7 separate regions of the Homo sapiens genome follow, and regions 1, 2, 3, 4, 6 and 7 are each linked to region 5. The links are contacts of gene promoters, found by promoter capture Hi-C in blood cells and fetal thymus (Javierre and others, 2016). All regions are on one chromosome and are shown on one strand. The core of a region is centred on a gene start or on the middle of the fragment in contact, and the rest is flanking DNA. Distances in the headings are between cores, read along the strand shown. Region 1 has its middle 43 kb from the start of UMLILO. Region 2 has its middle 19 kb from the start of RASSF6. Region 3 overlaps RASSF6 (Ras association domain family member 6). Region 4 overlaps RASSF6 (Ras association domain family member 6). Region 5 holds the start of CXCL3 (C-X-C motif chemokine ligand 3). Region 6 overlaps INKILN (inflammatory MKL1 (MRTFA) interacting lncRNA). Region 7 overlaps RASSF6 (Ras association domain family member 6).

The links. Contacts are between HindIII fragments. The CHiCAGO score rates a contact against its expected background, and 5 or more counts as called.
Region 1: a fragment that was not itself captured here is called in contact with the fragment with the promoter of CXCL3 in region 5 in 6 of 17 cell types (M0 macrophages, megakaryocytes, M2 macrophages and 3 more); the score reaches 12.6 in M0 macrophages.
Region 2: a contact is called between a fragment that was not itself captured here and the fragment with the promoter of CXCL3 in region 5, in 1 of 17 cell types (neutrophils). The highest score is 12.7, in neutrophils.
Region 3: a fragment that was not itself captured here is called in contact with the fragment with the promoter of CXCL3 in region 5 in 1 of 17 cell types (fetal thymus); the score reaches 8.9 in fetal thymus.
Region 4: a fragment that was not itself captured here is called in contact with the fragment with the promoter of CXCL3 in region 5 in 1 of 17 cell types (fetal thymus); the score reaches 6.9 in fetal thymus.
Region 6: a contact is called between a fragment that was not itself captured here and the fragment with the promoter of CXCL3 in region 5, in 3 of 17 cell types (M0 macrophages, monocytes and M1 macrophages). The highest score is 5.6, in M0 macrophages.
Region 7: a fragment that was not itself captured here is called in contact with the fragment with the promoter of CXCL3 in region 5 in 1 of 17 cell types (fetal thymus); the score reaches 5.8 in fetal thymus.

What each region holds. Positions count from the first base shown.
Region 1 is chr4:73,665,156-73,668,800 of GRCh38, reverse strand. No RefSeq gene overlaps it. Among named protein-coding and RNA genes, the nearest start is that of UMLILO, 43 kb to the left of the region's middle. The HindIII fragment of the contact is 4,697 bases long and covers 1-3,645 here.
Region 2 is chr4:73,637,021-73,641,003 of GRCh38, reverse strand. No RefSeq gene overlaps it. Among named protein-coding and RNA genes, the nearest start is that of RASSF6, 19 kb to the right of the region's middle. The HindIII fragment of the contact is 4,804 bases long and covers 317-3,983 here.
Region 3 is chr4:73,568,002-73,571,862 of GRCh38, reverse strand. It overlaps RASSF6 (Ras association domain family member 6), which reads left to right. Exons shown (of 11, transcript NM_177532.5): 11 at 1-313. Among named protein-coding and RNA genes, the nearest start is that of RASSF6, 51 kb to the left of the region's middle. The HindIII fragment of the contact is 197 bases long and covers 1,899-2,095 here.
Region 4 is chr4:73,588,573-73,592,314 of GRCh38, reverse strand. The region is part of intron 4 of RASSF6 (Ras association domain family member 6); the gene reads left to right. Among named protein-coding and RNA genes, the nearest start is that of RASSF6, 30 kb to the left of the region's middle. The HindIII fragment of the contact is 1,703 bases long and covers 406-2,108 here.
Region 5 is chr4:74,037,154-74,040,968 of GRCh38, reverse strand. It overlaps CXCL3 (C-X-C motif chemokine ligand 3), which reads left to right and starts at 2,280. Exons shown (of 4, transcript NM_002090.3): 1 at 2,280-2,457; 2 at 2,556-2,679; 3 at 2,793-2,876; 4 at 3,692-3,815. The coding sequence starts at 2,358. The coding sequence ends at 3,707. LOC105377275 (a long non-coding RNA gene) reads right to left here and starts at 2,024. Exons shown (of 2, transcript XR_938875.3): 1 at 22-2,024. The HindIII fragment of the contact is 4,426 bases long and covers 1-2,820 here.
Region 6 is chr4:73,700,914-73,704,444 of GRCh38, reverse strand. The region is part of intron 2 of INKILN (inflammatory MKL1 (MRTFA) interacting lncRNA); the gene reads left to right. Among named protein-coding and RNA genes, the nearest start is that of UMLILO, 7.7 kb to the left of the region's middle. The HindIII fragment of the contact is 8,798 bases long and covers 1-3,531 here.
Region 7 is chr4:73,609,671-73,613,287 of GRCh38, reverse strand. RASSF6 (Ras association domain family member 6) reads left to right here. Exons shown (of 11, transcript NM_177532.5): 2 at 1,459-1,557. The coding sequence starts at 1,493. Among named protein-coding and RNA genes, the nearest start is that of RASSF6, 9.0 kb to the left of the region's middle. The HindIII fragment of the contact is 3,879 bases long and covers 26-3,617 here.

The DNA.
Region 1 (3,645 bases), core at 818-3,317, 370 kb after region 5:
AAACAGGACACTAAAACAGAGGGATGCTGCCACTCCTCATGCTCAGTTAAATCTGGCTCCTTTTACACTAAATTTCTTAAACCTAGCAAGAAATCAACCTTTTACAGTGGCAGAACAACATTTCACTGGAAGTAAATTTGATCCACAAAAAGGAATGCGGGTATGGTGGAAGGATGCAACTAACAAATAGGAATTAGGCACAGTCGTAACATGGGGTAGGGGTTTTGCTTGTGTTTCCCCAGGAAAAGGACTACAGCCCATGTGGGTCTCCCCCACCGACAACTGAAATTGCACCATAACTCCAAAGATGAAACGTTCCCAGAAACAAAAGGCAAAGACCCCTCAAAAACCGAGGAGGAAATTTCGCCTCCTGACACATAAACTTCATGACCTCGACATTGAGACAAAATCTCGCTGTGTGACCTACAACACCACTCGTTCAACTCCACCAACATGGGGTCAAATAAAGGTCTTATCCCATCACACAGAAAATTTATTAAAAGAAAAAGGAATCCCAAAAACGACCAGTAATATAATTCTGGCTGTCTTTATGGTAGTCAGTGCAGCAGTAAGTATACCACCAGTTGGGGCAACTCAAAATTATACCCACTGGGCATATGTTCCTTTTCCCCCTTTAATTTGGTCTGTCTCCTGGATGGACTCCTCAGTAGAAGTTTACACTAATAATAGTGCATTCATGCCGGTCCCTAATGATGATAGGTTTCCAGCTCAACCGGAAGAAGAAGGTATGCACTTTAATCTGTCATTTGGCTATAAATACCCACCACTGTGTATCACCTGGCTGTTTAGCTTATTCTTACCAGAATTGGATGTGGACCGTACCATCCTTAACAAATGATTCTTATCAAGTACATAATGTGTTCAGTAGCAATTCTTTTCAACTTCTCACTGTTAAACTTAAGCCTCTTGAGGAATTGAGGGCTCCTGTCACTACTAACAGCAATAAAACAAAAGGACTGCCAGACTGCCCAAAGAAACCTACAAAGGGAACTTTTCTACTGAATTCAATTTTATGGAATGATTGTAATGCTCCCAAGGCCATTGTGCTGCAAAGTCTAGCCATGGGAACTGTTATTGATTGGGCTCCAAAAGAGCATTATTCGCAGGATTGCTCCAGCAAAAATACCTCATGCTCGGAGTATAATTATTTGTTAGATTATATAAAGGATGGATGGCAGTCATACAGGTTGAGACAATAGGTGTCTCCTTACCCATTTAAATGGATGGACGCAGGCATTGTTCCTCCTAGACCAAAAATGATTCATCCCATTGTTACCCCAGAACATCCTGAATTATGGAAATTAGCTGCAGCTATAACAGGAATAAGGATATGGAACACTACTTATCAACTCCTTCACACTAATACCAAAACACCCACATTCAACATCACCTTGATATCTAAACAGGTAATACCCATCAGGAGTTGTGTCAAAACCACTCACCTGCTGTTAGTTAGAAATATAATTATCATTCCCAGTACACAAACTATAGAATGTGATAATTGTAAGCTGTTCACGTGCATTGATGCTACTTTTAATCCCACAACAAGTATTCTCTTGGTAAGTGCTAGGGAGGGGGTATGGATACCAGTTTCTTTACATCATCCGTGGGAGTCTTCCCCCTCTATATACATAGTCAATGAAGTTCTTAAAGGTATCCTCAAAAGAACAAAGAGATTTATTTTTACTCTTATTGCAGTCATTGCAGGTCTAATTGCGGTTACTGCAACAGTGGCAACTGCTGGAGTTATGATTCACAATTCCGTTCAAACCACTCAATGTGTTGAAGCATGGCAAAAAAACTCCTCCAGACTTTGGAATTCTAAGGCTCAAATTGATCAAAAATTAGCTAATCAAATTAATGATCTCTGCCAACGTGTGATATGATTGGGAAATAGAGTTATGAATTTGGAACACCGTATGCAATTACAGTGTGATTGGAATACTTCTGATTACTGCATAATGCCTTATGCTTATAATAAAGATCAGCATAGCTGGGAAAAGTTCTCAAGACATTTAAAAGCCTGGGATGATAACTTAACCTTGGATATTTCAAAACTTAAAGAACAAATTTTTGAGGCTTCACAGGCTCATTTATCCACTGTTCCTGGCTCAGACATTTTTGAAGGAATAACTAAAGAATTATCTGATCTTAATCCCTTTAAATGGATCAAACCCCTTGGAGAATCATTGTTGTCACTGGCATTATTAATACTGGTATGCTTATGTTGTCTCTTTTAGTCTGCAGATGCCTCCAAGGAGTCCGGAAACAAGTCCAAAGTCAACGACAAGCAATGATGGTGATGGCGATCCTAGTTAATAAAAAGGGGGCAGATGTGGGTGGCAAGCCAATCAGGTGCCAAGGCAAGAGACCGAGGGCACGAGCTGTTCCAATATAATAAAATATATAAAACAACAAGAGTTATACTAGATCTAGATCATAGACATGATTATACATGAATATCATTAATCATTAGTTTGTAGCAATTACGCTTTATTCCAATATTATAATAATCCTCGCTCTACAATCATAACCTAGGAAAAGCCAGGCCATACAGAGATAGGAGCTGAGGAGACATGGTGAGAAGTGACCAGAAGACAAGAGTGTGAGCCCTCTGTCAAGTCCAGACAGGGCCACTAGAGGGCTCCTTGGTCTAGCGGTAACGCCAGCATCTGGGAAGACGCCTGTTGCCAAGTGGACCATGGTCTAGTGGTAGCGTCAGTGCCAAGGAAAAACACCCGCTACTTAGCAGACCAGGAAAGGGAGTCTCCCTTTCCCTGGGGGAGTTTAGAGAAGACTCTACTTCTCCACCTCTTGAGGAGGGCCTGACATCAGTCAGGCCCACCCACAGTTATCCGGAGGCCTGTCTCCCTGTGATGCTGTGCTTCAGTGGTCATGCTCCTAGTCTGCTGTCATGTTCCATCCTGTGCACCTGGCTCTGCCTTTTAGATAGCAGTAGCAAAATTGGTTAAAGTACTAAAAGTCTCTGATATGCAGAAATAATGGTGTAAGCTGTCTCCTCTCTCCGCCTCAGCTGCCAAACAGGGAAGGGCCCCCTGTCCAGTGGACACGTGACCCACGTGACCTTACCTATCATTGGAGATGGCTCACACTCCTTACCCTACCCCTATGTCTTGTATCCAATAAATATCAGCACAGCCTGGCATTTGGGGCCACTACCGGTCTCCATGTCTTGGTGGTAGTGGTGCCCTGGGCCCAGCTGCCTTTTCTTTTATCTCTTTGTCTTGTGTCTTTATTTCTACAATCTCTCATCTCCACACATGGGGAGAAAAACCCACCGACCCTGTGGGGCTGGTCCCTACAATTCTCTTGGTCTTCTGTTCCAGCTCTAATGAATTAAAAAACTAAGAAAGTAAGAAATGGATATTTAATATCCTGGCTATGTTCTTTGAAGGGTGTCTCTGCAGACCACTAAAGTGAATATTTCTATAACATACACTGGGCAAGTCCCAGATTTGTCCCGGAGTTTCTGCTTCCTATGCCCTAAGTCAAGGTCAGATGTAGAGCAGCAAGTAATATTCTGACCAGTGAAGTTTAGCCAAATGATCCAAACAGACAGTTTGGTTTAAAGCTGCTTTAGGGATTCAAATCCAAATATCAGAA
Region 2 (3,983 bases), core at 1,469-3,968, 400 kb after region 5:
TCAGGACATGGGTTTGGGCAAAGATTTCTTGAGTAATACCCTACAAGCATGGACAACCAAAGCAAATATGAACAAATGGAATAACATCTAGTTAAAATGCTTCTGCACAGAAAAAAGCAAATCAACAAAGTGAAGAGAATGCACAGAATGGGAGAAAATATTTGTGAACTACCCATCTGACAAGCGATTAGTAACCAGGATATATATGGAGCTCAAACAACTCCCTAGGAAAAAAGTCAGATAATCTGTTTTAAAAATGGGAAAAAGATGTGAATAGATATTTGTCAAAAGAAGACATACAAATGTCAAACAAGCTTAAGAAAATGTGCTCAACATCGTTGATCATCATATAAATGCAAATCAAAACCACAACGAGATATCATCTAACCTCAGTTAAAATGATTTTTATCCAAAGGATAGGCAATAACAAATGCTGGCAAGGATGTGAAGAAAAGGAACTCCTCTTGGTGGGAACGTAAATTAGTACAAACACAATGGAGAACACTGTTGGTGGGAATGTAAATTAGTACAGCCACTATGAAGAAAAGTTTGCAGATTCCTCAAAAAACTAAAACTAGCACTACCCTATGACCCAGCAATCCCACAGCTAGGTATATAACCAAAAGGAAGAAAATCAGTGTTAGTGTTATCTGCATGCCCATGTTTATTGCAGCACTATCCACAATAGCCAAGATTTGAATGCAACCTAAGTGTCCATCAACAGATGCATGGATAAGGGAAATGTGGTACATATACACAATGGAATACTATTCAGCCATAAAAAAGAATGAGATCCTGTCATCCTGTCATTGCAATAATATGGATGGAACTGGAGGTCATTATGTTATTTAAAATAAGTCAGACAGGGAAAGTCAAACTTCACGTGTTCTCACTTATTTGTGAAAACTAAAAATTAAAACAATTGAACTCATGGAGATGGAGTAGAAGAAGGGATATCAGAGAATAGGAAGGGTAGTCAGTGGGGTTGGTGGGAACAGAGTGATGGTTAGTGGGTACAAAATAAGTCAGAGGGAATGAATAAGACCCGATGTTTGCTAGCACAACAGGGTGACTATAGTCAAAAGTTATTTTAAAATAACTAAGAGAGTATAATTGTATTTTTTTAACATAGAGGATAAATGCTTGAGGGAATGGATACCCCATTTGCCCGATGTGATTACTGTGTATTGCATGCCTGTATCAAAATATCTCATGTAACCCCAAAATATACACACCCTACTATGTACTCACAAAAAATTAAAAATTATATATATGTTCATATATGACACATATATCAGCTAAATTTTTAAGTAAAAAATGGCAAGCTAATCCTAAAATTTATATGGAAATTCAAAGAACCTAGAAGAGCAAAACAACTTTGCAAAATAATAATAATATTAGATAATTAATACAACCTGACTGCAAGGTATATTATAAAGGAAGCGTAATCAATGTTATGTGGTATTGAGATAATGTTAGGCAAATGTATCCATGAAACAGGATAATTTTCTGGAAAAGATCTACATACAAATGAACAGATTATTTTCTACAAAAGTAGCAAAATTCAGTTGAGAAAGTGTGGTATAGTAAATTTTATTCACACAATCTAAATTAAGCCTCCATAAAGTTTATTTAAACAGAAGAAATAGGTCATAGTGCCCCCAAAATTTGGGAACTACTCAAGATTCCTGGGATTGTTGGACCAACATGAAATAAAAGCAGAAAAAGCACAGAACATTAGATGCCAAAAGCAAAGGTAAACTGTGAAAATTAGAGGGGAAAACTACATAGCCTAAATAAGAGTGGCTCAGATAGAGTAGTATTTATTTCACTGTGTGTTTTCATAATATACATGCAGACACTGCCCATAAGGTATATAATTACATCACTCAAGTGCTTACCTTACTTCTGTCAGTATACCATGATCTGCTTGACATCACAAGAATTTAGCCCAGGAAGGATCCCTTATTGCAAACAGGATATGCTCCAGGAGCTGTTTGTTGTGGCTGTAATCAACATAAACTCAACTGTCTCCTATTTTCTGAAACTATGCAAGCACCTATGACCCACTTGTAACTAGAGTTATTAAGGATGGGACAGAAAGCAGTTGTGAATCCATCTAAAAACTACAATCAATGGTTTATAACATTTTTAAAACTATTTTTGAATTTCAATAGCTTTGGGGGTACAAGTGGTTTTTGATTACATGGATGAATCGTACAGTGGTGAAGTATAAGATTTTAGTGCACCTGTAACCCAAGTAGTATTCAGTTTACCCAATATGTAGTATTTTATCCTCAGCCCCCATCTCATCCCCTCCTTCTAAATCTCCAAAGCCCATTATACCACTCTGCATGCCTTCGTGTACCCGTAGCTTAGCTCTCACTTATAAGTGAGAATATATGGTATTTGGTTTTCCATTCCTGATTTAGTTCACTTAGAATAATGGCCTCTAGCTCCTCCAAGCTACTGCAAAATATATTTTTTTATTCTTTTTTATGGCTGACTAGTATTGCATGGTGTGTATATACCATTTTATTTATCCACTCATTGGGCAACGAGCACTTAGGTTGGTTCCATGTCTTTGCAATTGTGAATTGTGCTGCAAGAAACATACACAAGAAAATGTCTTTTTGATGTAATGACTTCTTTTCCTTTGGGTAAATACTAGCAGTATCTGGTATATCTACCATTTGCTGAATCAAATGGTATATATACTTTTAGTTCTTTAAGAAACCTCTATAGTGATTTCTATAGAGGTTATTCTAATTTACATTCCCAATAGCAGTGTGTAAGTGTCCCCTTTTCACCAAATCGATATCGATACCAATATCTATTGTTTTTTGACTGTTTAATAATGGCCATTCTTGTAGAAGTAAGATAATATCTCACTGTGGTTTTAATTTACATATCTCTGATGATTAGTGATGTTGAGCATTTTTTTCATATGTTTGTTGGCCTTTTGTATATCTTCTTTCATGAAATATCTATTCATGTCATTTGTCCCTTTTTTAATTGAATTTTTTCTTGCTGATTTGTTTGAGTTCCTTGTACATTCTGGATATTAGTCATTTGTTCAATGGTAGTTTGCAAATATTTTCTCCTATTCTGTGGGTTGTCTGTTTATTCTGATGAATATTTCTTTTGCCTAATGGAAGTTTTTTTAGCCTAATTAGGTCCCATTTATTTATTTTTGTTTTTGTTGCATTTGCTTTTGGGGTCTTAGTCATAACTTATTTTTCTAGGCCAATGTCCAGGAGAGATTTTCCTTGGTTATCTTCTAGAATTCTTATGGTTTCAGGTCTTAGATTTAAGTTGATTTTTGTATAAAGTGAGATATAAGGGCCCAGATCATTCTTCTACATGTGGTTATCCAGTTTTCCCTGCACCATTTATTAAATAAGGTGTCCTTTCCAGAATTATGTTTTTGTATGCTTTGTTGAAGATCAGTTGCTTAGAAGTATTTGACTTTATTTCTGGGTTTTCTGTTCTGTTCCATTAGTCTGTGTGTCCACATTTATACCAATACCATGCTGTATTGGTAATTATAGCCTTGTAGTATAAATTGAAGGCAGGTAATATGATGCCTCCAGATTATTTCATTTTGCTTAGGAGTGCTCTGGCTATTCAGGCTCTTTCTTGGTTCCATATAAATTTTAGGATTGTTTTTTCCACCTCTGTAAAAAAAAAAATGTGTCGGTATCTTGATAGGAATTCCATTGCATCTGTAGATTGCTTTGGGCAGTATGGCCATTTTTATGATATTGACTCCTCCAATCCACAACGTGGGATGTTTTTTCATTTATTTGTGTCATTTGTGATTTCTTTCTGCAATGTTTTGTGGTTCCCCTTTTAAAGATCTTTCACCTCCTTGGTTAAGTATATTCCAAGAATTATTTTTTGGCGGCTATTGTAAAATGAATTGAGTTCTTGATTTTATTATCAGCTTGGTCATTGTTGGTATATAGCAATGCTACTAATTT
Region 3 (3,861 bases), core at 748-3,247, 470 kb after region 5:
CCTTGTTTTAGGTGGTCCAAATATTTCATTGTCAGTTATATATTAGCTCAAATTAAATTTTAGATAATATATATTATTATTAATGGTAAAGAATGTGTCACATTTATCTTTATAGCTTTTCTGTACCTAATATTGTGTCTTGTGCGTAGGATGTGCTCAATAAAAATTGATTGAATAAATAAGTGAATGAAAGAATAAATGAATGAGTGAAGGAATTATCTGAAATATTTTTATAAAATTCCCCATATGTATGTATTACTTATTACAAGTCTGGTCCCATAGCTGAAAAAATATTAAACATTATATATATATATATGTTTTTCCCTGATATAGTGGTATATTTTATTATCTCTTGGCTCTACTATGAAATATTCAGTTAGGTGTCATTACTGTTTAATTTGGTTTAGGGCTATTTAGATTGGTTTTTGAAACTGAAGGGGAAAGAAGCCCCTTGCAATGCAATTGATGAAGTGATAAAGACAGCAGGTATAACTATTAGGTGGAGGCATATATATGGGAAAGAACAAGAAATAGGATGTAGTTACAGAGGGCAAAACCTTTCAATGACATTCATTTGTCTTCTAAATTAATAACATCTAATACCTATTAGATTGAGCCATTTGAAATTGCCAATATTTGACCTACAAAGGCAATGATTTCATATTGTTCAAACTAATAACAACTTATTTGCTGGGCACTACGTTTAATATTCATTACAATTCCATAAGGAAATTATTCTTTCAACCTCATGCTACAGATAAAGAAAGTAAGCCATGGAGCAGTTAGGAGATTTGCCAAGGTTTTTAGTAGAAGAAATAGGTAGGATTTAAACTTATGGCTCCAGAAGCCATACAGTTAACCACCATAATCTGTGGCTTCCCCCGAACTATGCTTCCCGAATCTGCCATTCTAAAATGTGTCCTCATTTTTAAGTGGAATAATAGTACCTACTTCATTGGACAGTTGGGGGAGTTACAAGAATAGCACATGTAAAGCCTGGCACTTTGCACATAAGAATGTGATAAATATTAGCTATGTTATAATTAAACTTCAGTATATTCCCCAACCACCATCGTAGCCTTATCTTCTACTAAGACTTACTGCCCACAGCTATGTCATTTTTGTCTTAAAACCAGCCAAACTAAATCACTCAGCCTTCCCTGAAACACTGCACACTTTAGCACATCTCTTTCTGTTGAAACATTCCCATTTTCTAGTCCCTGGTTAGGGTCCCTTCTTCCATTACCTTTCCTGGTCTCTGTAACAATGTGTGATCTCAAGCTCCTGTGTACCACAGTTTCAGTTAGCTCTGCTCTTGTGACACCAGAATTTTGAAATTTGCCTTTTATTATAATTCTTTATGTGCTTATATCTTGTATAAATGCATTAGTGATCTGGTGAAATCATATTCATATTTGTATTATTCCTTGTAGTATCTAGCACAGTGTATTGAATGCATTAGGTACTCAGCAAATGTTTATTGGATCTAATTCACTAATGCATATGAATGTGTTGAAGTCACTGAAGTGAGGAAAAATAATTAAACTCAAGGAAAGGGTATTAGAATGATAATTAATTTTTTTATAGTTCTCTAATCAAAATAATTCATTTATTTAAGCACTTAGTTTTACTTTATCTTTTATACAAAAATATCTGGAAAAATAAAAACAAGTCCAAATGATACCCATCAGTTCTTTATGTCTTTTGCAGAAAGATTTCCAAAGAAAAAAAGTACTATCACAAATAATCACTTCAAGCTCAAATTAATTTAAGTGCATTATATTGTATTGGTGCCAATACAGCATCACATATTTAGGGTAAAGATTAAAGGTGAAACCTTTAGGAAGGTAACTTTATTATGAAGCTTATGATTAGGAAGGTAACTTTATTATGAAGCTTATTTCATTCAGTTTGGCAATAAACATTTTCAGTATTGGCATAGACAAAAACTCCAAGTTGCTTTTAGGGTTTTGTTCACTGTGGAAACTTGGCAGACAATTCCCAGCTTGGTGTGAGAGCCCATCACATCTACCTGAGCCCTTTGAAAGCTGTTTGATTTCATGTTTCTGTTTCTGCTCTTGAGAAGAAGAAAGCTTGTTGTTGAGAGAGAGGGGTAATTACGGTGGGTTTTCTGAGGGTTACAATAATTAGATTTCTCTGCTGGGTAAGAAAGGACAATTTCAGTGTAGACTGGCCAGTGTTCTTGAGCAACTTTGTGAGCACCTGAAAATTTATTTTGTTGATTCTTATTTTGAATATTAGATATGTTTGATGATTTATAAGAATAAGTGTAGATCTCATCAAAGATCCTACATTGACATTTTCTGGGATCATTTAAGCTCCCCATAGACACTAGTACTTTTTGATCCATTTGGACCCTTAGGAAAAGCAAACAAACAAATAATTACATTTGTGAGGAAAAAAAAAAGACAAAAAAAAGTAAAAACCTAAATACATATGATCACAAAATAGAAAAATGTCTAAGACTTAGCTGGGAAGGGCAGAACAAATTGGCCAAATAGAAGCCTCCACCAATCATCATTCTTCTCCACCAAACAGGAACACCAAATTTAACAATGATTTACACACACACACACACACACACAAAGAAAAAGAAAAAAAGAAAAAACCTTCATAAGAACCAAAAATCAGATGAGCAATCAAAATACCTGGTTTTAATTTCATATCACTGAAAGAGGCATTAAGAGGGTAGGAAAGACAGTCTTGCAGAAACCACCCATCCTCCATCCCCCAGCAGCTGTATGGTGTGGAGAATCTGTGCACTTGGGAGAAGGAGAGCACAAGGATTATGAGATTTTACATTTAACTTAGTGCTACCTTGTCACAGTAGAAAGCAGAACCATACTGAATTCATCCCATTTCTACCCATGGCGGGAGCATTTAGACAAGCCCTAGCCACAGGGAAATTGCCTGTCTCAGTCATTGGAATCTGAGTTGCAGCAAGCCTCAGAACCATGGGCTGAAGTTCTCTGGGATGCTAAAAAAAACATGAAATGCAGTCTAGACCACAAGGATTGCAACTTCTAGGCAAGCCCTAGTGCTGTGCTGGGGTCAGAGGCAGTGGATTTAAGCAGCACAAAACCTTGTGAGACACCAGCCAGGGTGGCTAAGGGAGTGCTTGCACACTCTTCTCCCAACCATAGGCTGCACAGCTTACAACAACTAAAGTGACTCCTTCCTTGTGCTTGAGGAGGGAAGAAGGAAGAATCAAAAGAATTTTGACTTGCATCTTGGTTACTAGCTCACCGACAATAGGATGGAGCACCAGGCAGAGTCATGAGACCCCCATTCCAGGCCCTAAACCCTGACAACATTTCTAGACACTCCCTGGGCCAGAAGTGAACCCACTGCCTAGAAGGGAAGGACACAGTCATGGCAGGATTCATCATCTGCTGACTAAAGGGTCCCTGGGCCCTTTATAACCAGCAATGATACTCAAGTAGTATGCTGTAGGTTTGGTTGAGACTCTGAAATGTGCTGGCTTCAGGCGAGACTGAGCACGTTTCCAGCTACGGTGGCTATGGTGAGAGACTCCTTCTACATGAGAAAAGCAGAGGGAAAAGTAAAGGGGACTCTGTTTTGTACTAGCTTGGCCACAGTGGAGCAGAGTATCAAGCAGGCTCGTGGGGTCCCCAGTTTTAGGCCTCGACACTTGGACAGCATTTCTGGACTGGTCCTGGGCCAGATGGGAGCCCACTGCCCTGAATTGTGAGTCATTGGCCTGGCAGCATTACCACAAGCTGACAGAAGAGGACTTGGGCCTTAAATGAACATCAGTGGTAGCCTGGCATTAGTCCCTGTAGGCCTGTGGTGGTGGTGGCCACAGGGAGATATTCCTTT
Region 4 (3,742 bases), core at 8-2,507, 450 kb after region 5:
CCCAATGTAATATTTGGCCACAACTAGGGAAAATTAATTATCACCTTGACAGAAGTCTGCTTTTCCTTTGGAAAAAATATTTAAGCCCGACTATGATTTTCACCTTGCCAATATTTCTCAAAAATTATGCTACTGCCATGCTGAATGTTTTGTAATTCCCTACACATTTCATGCAATTTCTAATTTTCCTGACTCTGCCTAGAAGTCTCCCTGCTTCTCCACATCCATTTGCCTGAGTCTCTTCCACCAGTCCTTTAAGACGCAGGTGAGGTAACATGTTCTCCAGAAAGCCATTTCTGACCCCTCAGTCTATACGAGGCTCACTGAAAACTTTTCTATATCACTTGACACACATGCAGTCAATTGTATTTTTGTATACTTATCTCCTTGTCTATAGTGCAAGCTTCTCGGTGGTAGGGAATGTGCTTTATTCATCTTTGTTTTATTTGCTTTATTCATCCCAGTGCCCAACTGTGTGCCTGGCACAAAGAGGAGATTCAAACCATAGTATAGAGCAAAATCCCCAGAAGCCTGTGGTTAAATTACCTCTGCTTTGTTGTCACTACTTAGTCCCTCTATCTATCTCGTCTCCCATCCAAGCTAAGGATTGCCAAGGAGCTTAGGGCTCAGGGCCTAAGGAAGAACGGAAGGGAGGCAGCAGCCTCCAGCAGCCTGAGAGAGCCCCACATTTCTCACTTCAGGTACCTGATGACTGATGGGGCTTATGATTCTAAATGACAAGGAGCATCATTTAAAAGGAAAAATTACTCTTGGGCTCTGCTTTCCGAAAACTGTACAAGATACGGATTTATAAAATTAACTACCATACTTCATATTACCTAAGACCTCATTGCAAAATTCTCTGAGCAGTCACATCTATTTGATGCATTTTAATTTTTTAATTCATGAAAATGTAATAAATATCAAACATTAAAGGAAAATGCCACAGAAATGAAGTAAGGTAATTTTAGTATCACCTTAAACCATCATTATTTTGTATGGCTTTACCAAGATATGTTTTAAGTTTTATTTTATTTTTAATTGACAAATAATAATTCTATAAATTTGTGGGATACATGTTTTTATGCATATGTACATTGCAGAATGAACCAAACAGGCTAATTAACATATCAATCATCTCAAATATTTATCATTTTTTGTGGTGAGAATAGAGAATATAAAAAATTCTCTTATTTAACTCTTTTGAAGTATGCAATATATTATTATTAACCATGATATTTTTTAACTTCTCAAATTTAAAACACTTGTTCCTAGCAATTCTGAATTTTTGGATGAGTTTCAAGAGCCCAGGTGGACAAGGTAATATGCCTCTCCATATACTGCCACAGGTTCTAAAATAATATCCTCATGATACACCTGCTATAGGATCCATTTACATTTTGCATTGTTTATTAGTACATTGCTGTGAAGCAAACAGGAATTGGCTCTTTTTGTTTAAAGTGGAGAAAAATTACCTAGAAACCTTGACTGGCTTGTCCTTTTCCAGTAACAAGATTAACTGTAGAACATTTGGCAGAAAAAGATCCCATTCCTTTTACATACACACAGAACCACACGCAAACAAGAGCAAGATTAGATTTGGTTGTCATTAATTAGCCAAGAGTACTTCCTGGGAGCCAGCTGAACACTCAGGCAGGAAGGCACAGCACAATTTGAAGTGGCTTTTCCCTGGTTTCTGGTTCGCTAATGGGGTGCATAGCCACCTAAGGTATCACTTTTGTTGTTTCAATCCAGTTCTAGACACCCTCCCTCTGGTTGTCTCATTTAAGATAACATCTATTTTAATTCTCAGCCTTTAATTGTGAAAAGAAATTTACTGTTTTCTTACTTTTAAACTATTTTCTTTTTCCCATAGTGGGCACCTCTAGGCAAAACTTACACCTCTGCTCTTGCAGGATGACAGATTTTATATCTGCAGTGGGTAAACGTGGGGTAAATGACAATAGAACTTCAGCTGCAGGAAGGGCTATAATCTTGTGTCTTTCAGTTCTCTCTTTGACGGAATCATTGGTCTTGTCACATTAGTTTAATTATGTTTGAAATGAGTCACACAGAGGAAGTATCAGCTTAATTGGAGTGAAGAAGCTTTTAAAAAATCAGTTTTTTTGAGCTCTGACCACTTGTTATTCTTTATGGAAACAATTCTATGGGCAGTACTTTGATCTCTCATATCTGGCACAAGTGTTTTGGAAATCTTTCATAACAAAAGAGAAGAACAGCCTTGTTAAGGTTGTGTTTGCTTATGCTATTTTTCACATCTGTTTTTAATATCTTTCAAAACTCAGCTTTTGCATATTTTGGACAAGTCATGACAGAATAACATAAAGAGCACAAACTGGACAGGTGTACATTTGAATAACGTCAGTGGTGTTTTTTTACTTACAGTATGGGTAGGGAAGTGACCATATTCTATTTGTCTATCAAATTTCTACCTCCTTTTTATTTTTAAACTCCTTAGAAAACCTCCCCATCATTTAAATTTGCAAATGATATACATCCTGAACTTTAGTCAGAGCAACAGAAGTCCCATGTTTGGGCAAGTTAAACTATTTGATATTACATAAAGTTCCAACCAGTTTTCTCTTGAAAACTCTGGATAACTGCCCTGAAGCTTAGTCATGTGCACAGTTGTATGGGGTGATGCTTCAAATTACACAATCCAGAGCTGAAAACTGGTGTTTTCTGCTGTAGATGGTAGAAAAAAATAAGGGGCCAAACACAGAATATATTGGATGACTTTTGGCCTCCTATATTTGTGTGACAAAACTAAGCTGTCACGTCTGCGAGGGTCACCGAGAATTTGACTGGCATCCTGGGGATTCTTATCTTTAGCCCTATGACATAGCATCAGGTTACTTTGCATTTTTAGTTTCTGTTTTTCATTGGTATTGACTTTTCCATTCCTAACCCCCCTTCTACGATAATTATGTCTGCCACTTTCTGATTATTAAGCTGCTATAGATTTGGGGAAATGGGTAATTTTATCTGCCATAAGACTAATTAGATTCTGAGTCAGGACCTGGTAGTTTTCCTTTGAGTTAAAGTTATTACCTGTAGTTGGGCTTTATGACATTTGTTTTGATTGGCTGTATTCTGAATAGTACAGCTTGCTGGAAAATTAACAAATATATTAGGATTACCTTCTCTACATCATAAGGCTATTGTGAGACTCAAATGATATAGTAGCCATAAAACACGCTTCAAAAGAATTCAAAAGTAAAGAGGATAAGGGATGACTTTCTTCATATTCACTACCATTAGTATTAATAAATATTTTTTGTTGCCACCAATGAAATTCGGGCAGAGTCAATGCCATAAATTCCCTATAAGTGAATATATTTTAGTCATAAGAAAAACAGACATTACTGAAGAGATTCTTAGATAATAGCAACCATTTGCCTAGAGAGATCCAGGAACACCTTGGGTCCCTAATGGTTCCTGGCCCATCAGGAATGAAATAGATACAGATGCTGGTGATGATGATGATGATGATGATGATGATGATGATGACAATGGAGATGAGGATAATTATAATTATTGTTAATCTATATTGAATGCTTACTATTTTCAGGGCACTGATTCAAGAATTTTATACAAATTAACTCTTTTAATCCTCAAAACAACCCTATCCTACCTCATGCTATTATCATTTTTATTTTACAGATGAGGACACAGGCACAGAGGGGATAAGAAACTTGTTTAAGACCAGATAAATAAAATA
Region 5 (3,815 bases), core at 1,031-3,530:
TTGTAAGCTCTTATCATTTACCTTATGTTTGCTGAAGAAAAACAAGCAAATTTTTAATGACCTCCCATCTATGTGCATCTCCTGGTAAAGTACAGATGTGTCTTCCTTTCTGAAAGCCTTCCTAAATTAAAAACATTTAACTTTTTTGTTTTTTATAAATTCCCAATTGAACTTTATTTTTCATTTATAAGTTTGCAGCATTTATTACAGCTTGAAACTGCAGAAGACATTTGGGACACTATTTTGGCCTCCATTGGGTCAATGTTTTTTCTGTATCTATCCTTTCTTTCAAGGAATTTAAGTAGTCAGGGAGATGTGAGAGAGGAAATTATTGAAAAAGAATGGAGCATATATATTACCTATAGTGTCTATTTTAAAGTAACAGGACATTCTAGCACACCTTTCTATCCCTTGTCCAAGATTATTGTAATGACATCACAGATACCCGTGAGCACCAGTAACTACAAGACCATTTTGGAAACTGGGATTGTGGTGTTTATATGAACATTCTTCTTTCTAGGATGTGCTTTGATTTCTTAAGGACTCACACTGCTTTATATCAGTTAGAGACAGGGAGAGTTGGGTGGCAGTAAGGGATACAGAAAATTTTAAATGTGAAAAACACTGGGGAGTAAAACTTTCCATTAGATTCTTCTTTTTTCCTTTACAGAATTCATAGCAGGCTGAGTTTTTGTTCAGGCAATGTCGGGAAAGAAATAGCCTTTTAAAAATGGAAATAGTCCATTTTATTTATTTAACAACCATTAATAAGGCACTTAATCCATGTTGTCTCTTACAAATGTTAACTCATTTCTCATAACCACCTTGGGCTAGGCACAGAGAGGCTTAACAACTTGCAAGTGATACTCTGCAACTAAATACAGGCAGCACAGTTGCACGCTCTGTGTTTGGTTAGGGGCAAGGACTCTTATCCCTTGAGCTGGGTTGTGTAGAGCCCTGTGCTTCAGGCAGATGCCATTCCTTTCTCCTCTCCTCCATCCTACTCCACGTCTCAAAGAGGTCTGAGACCAACTTGTAGAATCACACTTAAACCCTCTAAAACCTAATGACAAATCAAAATACATTATCTAAAACTAGAAAAAGGGACAAAGGTGTCAGGTTAAAAGACTGAAAATCCAGACGAGAAAAAAAAGTGCCCTGTTAATGTTTCCAGAGAAAGATCCCCCAGTGCTGAATACCAGAAAATTCTATAGTAAATGAAATGTGATTTTATGTGTGATCTGGTGTTTAAATGTCATCAGCAGGCAGCTGTTTGCTCCTTCAGTGGGAATGGTGTTTGCACACCAGGTACCTACTCTCTAGTGTCATTCGCAAAGACAGAACCAGAAACATTGAGCCCATGATCCTGCTGGACCCAGCCCCTCCACAGCTTCAGAGTGACAGCCAGTGTCATATTTCTAGATCAAATCTGAATCCCTCCCACTGGGAGAAGGTCTCCAGGGGATTTAGGAAGTTCCAACATTTCAGAGGGAGGAAGGACGTTATGCAGGATACAAAAGAAGAGGTCATGTTATACAGCCCTGGCTTCCACGGACACTAACACTGAATTCAAATTTTGACACTGATAATCTGTTGCCACCAAATGGAAAACGTAAACAAGGTATTCTAAGTGTGATTAGAGAATATGCAAAACAAGGAACAAGTAGAACATTCTTCTCTGGAATCCGAGACGATGGCTGTACTTTCACAGAGAGCATGATGTTAGATGTACATGAAATAACGCTAAACCGAAAATGAGAGAGGCAGAGACCGGGAGGTTAACATAGAGGATAGACTATATAGAGAGAGGATAGCTGAGGGAAAACTCGCCTGTCTCCGGGTCCCCAGCAAATCTGATAACTAAGGAGACAAAGCTCTCTTCCTCTAAAGAAGTCGTGCCTTTCCTGTCCTGGTTCTCACGGGTCCCCCCAGCTCTTTCCTCCAACCCTACCCCGTACGCGGGGGGTCATCGGGGACCTAAGGTCCCCCCTCACAGGCTGTATCTTCAGCGAGGTGGACTCACTGCCTCTCCAGGAATTTGGGGCAGAAAATGAATATCCCAAAGTCCCAGAGTGCACGGGGGTTACTCTGGAGGGCGAGGCGTAGGCGTCACCAGTGGGCTCCCCCTACCCGTATCCGACTCCACCCCGGGGGCGGGGCCGTCGCCTTCCTTCGGGACTCCGGATCGATCTGGAGCTCCGGGAATTTCCCTGGCCCGGCCGCTCCGGGCTTTCCAGTCTCAACCATGCATAAAAAGGGTTCGCCGATCTTGGGGAGCCACACAGCCCGGGTCGCAGGCACCTCCCCGCCAGCTCTCCCGCTTCTCGCACAGCTTCCCGACGCGTCTGCTGAGCCCCATGGCCCACGCCACGCTCTCCGCCGCCCCCAGCAATCCCCGGCTCCTGCGGGTGGCGCTGCTGCTCCTGCTCCTGGTGGCCGCCAGCCGGCGCGCAGCAGGTGGGTCCCGGCGCCCTGGGGTCCCCGGGCCGGACGCGGCTGGGGTGGGCGCCCCGCGCCGACAGCCCCGCTCAATCAGCGAGTCTATTCTTCCCTAGGAGCGTCCGTGGTCACTGAACTGCGCTGCCAGTGCTTGCAGACACTGCAGGGAATTCACCTCAAGAACATCCAAAGTGTGAATGTAAGGTCCCCCGGACCCCACTGCGCCCAAACCGAAGTCATGTAAGTCCCGCCCCGCGCTTCCGCTGCCACCGCTGGGGTCCCCGACTCTCCCGCTGCCCCAACCCTGTCCCCAGCCCGACCTCCTGTCTCACGGAATTCCCTTCTCTCTGCAGAGCCACACTCAAGAATGGGAAGAAAGCTTGTCTCAACCCCGCATCCCCCATGGTTCAGAAAATCATCGAAAAGATACTGAACAAGTGAGTTGTAATTTCCATATACACAGGCGACTGGAGCCGTTGGTCAGAAATACTGGCATCTGCCCCCTAAAAATAAAATCAGGGAACCCCAAGAGTTAGCTGAAGGACTAGAAATTGTGATTATTATTTTCACAATTAAAGTTGCCATTAAGGTTATTAATCTGCTCTGGTGCCAGAGGATATTTCAGTATTTCAGTGTCTTCCATTTCCAGGCCTAACCCCTGGGAGGGTAAATGTGGGTTTCTAGAATACTAAGTAAATTTGACTAACAATGCCAAAATGCCCCCTGCCTGTTTTGGGACGTTTACCTCAGTCCCTAATGGGCTTCAGACCTGAAAAATGCAATGTCTGGTTTGGGCACTTTGGGCCTGTAAGCCTTCTTGGTGAAGAGCAGAAACTTTGCAGTAACACCTTCAGTGAGTTCAAGGCTAGGATCCCTGTCAACGTTATTTAATCTCTTTGAGCTTTAGCAAAATAGGGTAGATAATGGTAGTTATTTCATAGGGTTGTGTGCAGCTTAAGGGAGATCATGAATGGACATTTCTAACCCAATGTGACAATCAGTGACCAATATGTTTTGGCTTTTTCAAACCAAGAATCTAGTTGAGTCCACAGCCACTTCTTTCTTGAAAAAAAAAAAAAAAGCATTCAGGAGTGCAAGTTTTCTGCTATAGAAGGCAGTGGGTACAGACAGACCTTCCCTGAGTGGAGGGCTGGGAGAGAGTCTGCATGGGGACATCCCTCCAAGCAACTTCAGAGTGACAGAAGAGCAGCCTTCCTTAGCACCTGCAACAGTAACCCTTTTCTCATCACAGGGGGAGCACCAACTGACAGGAGAGAAGTAAGAAGCTTATCAGCGTATCATTGACACTTCCTGCAGGGTGGTCCCTGCCCTTACCAGAGCTGAAAATGAAAAAGAGAACAGCAGCTTTCTAGGGA
Region 6 (3,531 bases), core at 713-3,212, 340 kb after region 5:
AGGAAACAATAAGGCCTTTTAGCCTATTAATTCATGAGCAATTTGATGCCTCTTAGGCGATAAGTGCAAGTTGAGAAATGAATTTCCTGCTGCTAAAATTCCAACGCTTTAGAAACTCTTCAGTGAACAAATAAAAGTTTATTCTTTGCAATAATGATGGAAACAAAGACTTTCATAAAACCAAACAATTGAAATGTCTTGATAAATGCCTGCAGAGTTGGCTAGGTTTCTAAACTATCAAATAATGAGTTTACCTCTTCTTACACTTTTTCAAGAATCCATTGAAGAATCAAGATAGGAAAGAGTATGATTCTTCATTTTTCCTAGCCATGCTCCACTGCTCTATGTTATCATAAAAGGACTTTAATTAAAGTGTTATTCCATTAATTGCCCAAGAAGTCATATTTGAAAGAAATAAATGCTTATATATGTATGCTTACATGTCCCTTCTGGAAGTCTTAACCTTTAAAACTACTCCAGCCCCTTCCCCAAACGTCCTTCCCCAATTCCTTATGCACTTACTGGATTCAAAGCACGACACTATAAAAGCTGTGAGAAGAAAAAAATATAAATTTAAAGAAAACTTTTTTTCAGAAAGATAATTAAATTCAATGTAACAATAATAACTACTCGTTTTCAAAACTCAGCTCTTCAACTATTTCTCCTAGAATTTTTTTCCAAAACTCTTACTTCAAGTCTAACACTCCTTCATCTCAGTTTTCTCTTTCATGATTATGTATTTTAACTCATAGGTATACTCTTTAAGACAGGGGCTATCCCTGAGACCTATCCCACATCCTGAGAAGGGCTTGGCACTCTCCTTGTCAGATAGCCTGTTGCCTCCTCAGCCACACTGTGAGCTCCTTGATAGAAAGAATTGTGCTATCTGTGGCTTTCAGAGCCCTATTCAGATACTTGATGCTTAACATGTGCTTGTAGAGTCGGTAAACTGAATGTATGTGGAGCCTCCAGAACTGTGTTCCCATTGAGGATGACAGGGAACAGATCAATCCTTGTCCTACATGGCCTAAATCTTAGTTTGACAAATATCTGGAAAGAATTACAAAAATATAAGGTAGGAATGACTTGGGAGTCCAGGGTGGTGTCTGAACCCTAGTCACTGCCTTGGGCACACATTTCTCATACTGTTGCAATATCACAGTTGTTGACTTTCAGTTCACTCAGTTGGTCAACTCCCTAAAGTTGGTTAAGGACCCTCATACCCCTCATCCTACTCTTTTCTTCTACCCCAAACCCCCTTTGCTCAGGACTTCCAGTGGTTCCCTCCTTTTAACCTCAGTATTAGCCCTTTATCCCCAACTCTTTGCCTGCCAAATGACATAGGAGCAAAGGATGAGAGGGAGCTGTCCTGGAGGGAAGTAGTACCTGCAAGGTAATCAGACCTTTCATACTACTCAGATCTTGTGGCCATCTCATGTGTGATTATGTTACAAGGATGTTTGTTTTCCTTATGATTTCATGCTATATGAACTCAATCTCAGGAAGAAAAAGAAAGAATTTTCAAGGCTCATCCTGCTACTGATGAGTTTTGTTTTAGAATGTTGCCTCCGAGATGCCTAACGCCATGCAGGAGAGAAAGCTAGGCAGGCAAATTAAAACATGGGCCTCAAAGCTCCCCTGGGAGATGGGAAGTTCAGCTCTCTGTGGCTCCATAGTGAAAAGAGATCAGAAGCAACACCTCTCTGGATCACCAGGACTTCAGAGTTGCTTGCTCATAACCAGACAACTTGTGAAGGCTTCTGCAAAATTTTATGGTGAAGGCTGAAGAGAAAAGAAGTAAAACCCTCTCTAACACTTATACACAGAGCCCTGTGACCCTGACCCTTAGCATATCTTTCACAGGGTTCTCTACTGCAGTCATCTCACCTCTCACCATGGATTTCTCTATTCCAATTTTTTAATTGTAAGATATGTCACATTCACAAAAAAAAGTGAAAAGAACACATATCTGGCTGGGTGCAATGGCTCACACCTGTAATCCCAGCACTTTGGGAGGCCGAGGCAGGTGGATCATCTGAGGTCAGGAGTTCAAGACCAGCCTGGCCAACATGGTGAAACCCCATCTCTATTAACAATACAAAAATTAACCGGACATGGTGGCACATGCCTGTAAATCCCAGCTACTTGGGAGGCTGAGGCAGGAGAATCGCTTGAACTCGGGAGGTGGAGGTTGCAGTAAGCAGAGACCTCTCCATTACACTCTAGCCTGGGCAACAAGAGCAAGACTCCATCTCAAAAAAAAAAAAAAAGAAAAAGAAAGAAAGAAAAGAACACATACCTATAGTTTAAAACCATTATTATAAATGTTAAACACAAATAAATGGTAAATGTTCATATGTGTAACCACCATTCAGATGAAGAAATAACACATTACCAACATTCTCAGAACCCTCTCCCCTATTTCACCTCTTCCTGTTCCCTTTGAGTAATCACCTCCTGATTTTTTCCATAGTCATTCCTTTGCCTTTCTTTATATCTTTACTATCTGTGTATGCATTTCTAAACAATCCAACTTATGTTGCCTGCTTTTGTGCTTCACGTAAGTGAAATCATACTTTTTGTATTTTTTTGTGCCTTGCTTCATTTGCTCCACAATGTGTTTGTGTAATTCATCCATGACATTCCATGCAGCCATAAGTGGTTTATTTTATTTGCCATTAGGGATTAAGAGCAGAGACTCTAGAGCCAGACTTCTCAGGTTTAAATCTCAGCTCTTTTCTCGTTCAGATGTATAACCTTGTGCAAATTATTTCCATCTTTCTGTACTTTAGTTTTAATTTACCTGGAGCTGATTGTGGGGTATGGTGTAAGTTAGGGGTCTTAGGTAGACCTCCCTGGGAAGATCTCTGAGATGGTGATTTGTAAACATGTGGTTTATTGGACCATGAGCATGGGAACTGTACCTGAAAAAAGGTGAGGAAGGCAGATTTGGGCAGAGGAGAAACGAATGGTGAAGCATATGCAGTGGAGGCCTTGGCAGGTCCCATAATAGCTTTCAGCTTGTCTCAAATTGATAGAATTTGTATCCCCACATCAGCTAGTCTCGATGTGAGCTGCCTTCAGGGAGGGACCACAGCCTTCAGCAAGGCAGCTCCTTTAGGCCAAGGGCAATTCCTGAGGAGTGATTCAGCTGCGACCTGTCAACCAGCAATATTGCAGCTGGAACAATTAGTGTCATCACTCTGAAGGGGAGAACTGGGAAGGGCACCACGGCATACAATACAGGGTCCAGTTTGATTTTTTCCCATACAGGTACTCAATTGTCCCAGCACCTTTTTCCACGTTATATGATGCTACCTCTTTCATATCAAGTGTTCATACAGTAGTCTATTTCTGAGGTTATTAAAAGTTATGTTTCCAGCCGGGCGTGGTGGCTCACACCTGTAATCCCATTACTTTGGGAGGCCAAGGCGGGTGGATCACGAGGTCAGGAGATGGAGACCATCCTAGCTAACATGGTGAAACCCCGTCTCTACTAAAAATACAAAAAAATTAGCCAGACGTTGTGGT
Region 7 (3,617 bases), core at 716-3,215, 430 kb after region 5:
AATTACTTTGCCTGGTGACTAAGCTTCTGTGTCTCTGGTATGAGTCCTCCAGGTGTCCTGCATGAGACCTGCCAATGATGTGCTATCAGAGGATGCCATTTCCAACTAGAGAAGCACAATTCTTTGAGCAAGAAGATAGCAATAGAAAAGAAAGTAAGGTATAAATCAATAATGACAATACAAGGTAGAAAGCAGAATGATGACAACAGTGTGGATTCAAAGGACATGGGGAGACTTTAAGATTTCCCACTGGGGACTAAAAGGGACCAGATATCTGGACCTGCAGTGAGGAGGGCCCTCTGCTGCCAGGGGAAATGGGTGAGAAAAGACTCAATGACATGAAATTTCATTAGATTACAAGGCCTGGTGTTGAAGAAATGTTTCAATTTGGAGCCTGGAAAGGTAGGTTTGAGTGGAATTGAAGAAAACTTGAGAGTCAGGTTAAGGGACTTGGGCTGTATTTATTAAGAAAGATACCAAGATGGTTTGTGACCAAATAGGTGATGGGATGATCGGAATGATAAAAGCCTAAAATGAGACTCCAGCCAAGCATTCACCCTGAAAACTGTAACAAAGTACCTAGTGAGTTTAACAACATGCTATAAAGAAAAATATGCATCAGAGATTTTATGAGAATAGAAGAATAGCTTTCCTGTTTTCTTTTTTTCCTGGTACTCTGAAGAGTTAGGACATATAATTTCCTAATTTTTATTCATCTTACCCAACCCAAATAACCAGATTTGAAAGGAAAAGGAGGAAATCCACCCCCTTATACACAACGTTTTTTTTTTTAAAAAAAAAAAAAAAAGAAAACTGAACTCTCTCATCCATCTTTTTTATTCTGGCTCTATCCCCTAAAATCTTATAGACTTGGAGCCATGATAACTGAATATTCAATTTTTGCAAAATGGAATGAACAGAAAATATTATACTTTACATCTCTGGTCACACCCTAATGCCATTTATATGAACATATAAAGGAGGAGATTATTCACATCTGACCACAGTTTCCAGAGCTTGAAGGAGACTTGAAAAATATTACATCATACCTAATCAACTCTTCAAGTCAGAGCTTGATTTTAGCTGCCTAGAATTGCAGTTGTCTTCTGCTGATTGGGGCAAGGTTCAGCCAGTTTGGGTGAGTTATTGCAATAGAAGGAATATGCTCCCTTATACAGAATTATATAAATCAATAGAGTCATATTTATTTTGCTAGAAATATATCTAAAACAGACTTACCAAATTGTTCAATCCATCCGTGTCTGGAGTTACTGTTTCTGTAGTTTTTCATTTACATAATACATTTTTCTGTATTTTTGCTCACACATGACATACTACTTAAAAACTTTCTAAAACCTTCTTATACTCTAGAGACACAACAAAACACTCAACTTAAATCAGAAACTAATTTTTTAATGCATTATAGGAACAAATCATTAATATTATTCTCATGTTTAGGATATCCTCAGACCATCTCAAAAAGGAGGAAAAGATGACTATGATGGCTCACCAGTACCCCTCTTGGATCTTCATTAATGAGAAGACATTCATAACCAGGTAACCACACACCTTATATTATACATTGTCCTACTCACCAGTCATTTGTGGAATATACCGTCAAAGTTTTCTAAGCATGATGTATGGTCAACAAGATCAATAATATGAATCATCAGTAGAGATACTAGATAAGAAGTTGGAAAAGTATGTTCCTAAAGACTCTCAAATTTACTCTCATGGAACAATCACTAATATTTTGTTTAACAGTGGTTTTACTTTATTAAAAGCAACATTTCTGTTTTAATAGTTGGGATAATATTGAAGAGCAGCATTAGGTGAAAGATCTAAGGCTTCTCATAAATGATAGTTCTAAAGAATTAACCCCAGGGCCAAAAACATTATGTCCTGTCCTAACCTCTCCATCCCTTGCTCCTCATGACACTTTATTTTTACTGGTTCCCTCTTGACATTAGATTATGCAATATATGGCCAACATCCACAGCTTTTCTTGTACGCAGCAAACAGTATCTCATATTGCTTTGGGAACAATAGAGTAAGGGCTTAAAAGCTATAAGAGTAGAGATGAAAACTGAAACTGGCCAAGCTACAGCAGAGGCTGGGGGCTGAGAGGAGATGAAATCATGAAAAAATAAGTGGTACTGAAACATGACCCAAATCTTATGGGGGGTGGAAAAAGGAAAAAAGCCAAATAAATGACAGAGAGAAGGAGAAGTGAATGATGCAGGGTTGGGCAGTAGGAAAGTGAAGGAAACAAATATGATCAAATATGGAAATAAAGCCACAGCTGAAAGATAAGGATGAACTATAAGCAGTGGGAAAAAGACCTGATGCAAAGGATAAAGGATCCACTGACTTATTCCTCAAACACTTACTGATTACTCACTGTGAGCAGGTGTATTTTTGGACCCTGAGCATTCAGTAATGAACCAAACAAAACCCTTACTCTCATGGAGTTACATCATAAAGTCGGGATGCAGTCAATACATAAGATAAATGCTGAGGAAATGGAGTAAAGAGTGCTAGAGATAGAGAGCGGAAAGGGTTCTGATTGCATATAACCTAGTTCCTTCCTCAGTGAGCGGGAAGCACTGGAGGAAAAGCCTGCAGAAAGGGAGAAAGCAAGCCATGCAGCTTTCGCAGGTATTCCAGGCAAGGGGAATGGCAACTCCACAGCCCTAAGGCAGATGCATATTTGTAAGGGTCAGGGAGAACAGTGTGGGGAAATGGAAGTAGAAAGACAGCAGGAGAAGAAGCCAAATGGGCTCAGAACATGTAGGGTTTGATAGGCCATTATGAGGCTTGATCTTTCCCACTAAATAAGATGAGAAGCTGTGGAAGGATATTGAGCACATGAGTGGCAATATCAGTCTAGCTGCTGTGTTAAGAACAGAGTAGAGAGGGGACAAGAGTGGAAACAGAGAAGTTACCAAGGAGCTGACAGTCCAGGGTGGAGATGAAGGTTGCTTGAACCAAGGTGGCAGCAGTAGAGGTAGAAAACAATGGTCAGATTCTGGATATAGTTTGAAGACCAACACAATAGGATTTCCAGAAGGGTTAGACATGGGTGTGAGAGAAAGAGAATAACCAAGGATAATTCTAAAAATTTTGATCTAGAAAAATGGAGTTAACATTTTCTGAAATCATGAGGAGAAGCAGGAGCTACAGGAGGAGCAGGTTTGCAGTTGAGGATCCGGAATTCAGTTCTGGACACATTACATTTGAGATTGAATAAGAAGCATTTCTTAAAAATGAGGTCCATGGACCACCTGCTTCTGACTCAGATGCCTGTTCACAGTATAGACCCTTGGCTTCACCCCAGAACTAATCATGTGATTCTGATGCATACTGAAGTACTGAGAACAAATTCTCACCATAGGAAAGGATTAAAGTTCTGAGAACTTCTGACCTCCTAACATAAACAAAATTCCTGGAGCTAGGGGAAATCTCTGCCAGGCTGTCACCAGAAATTATAACAATGCCACTGACCAACTATGATATCCAGCATACCACAAATCTGGCAAACACCCCTACTCATTTATTCACTTGGCAAGTAGTTTTTTAGCTCCCTCTCTTTACTAGGCATTGTTGTGGTAAACAAG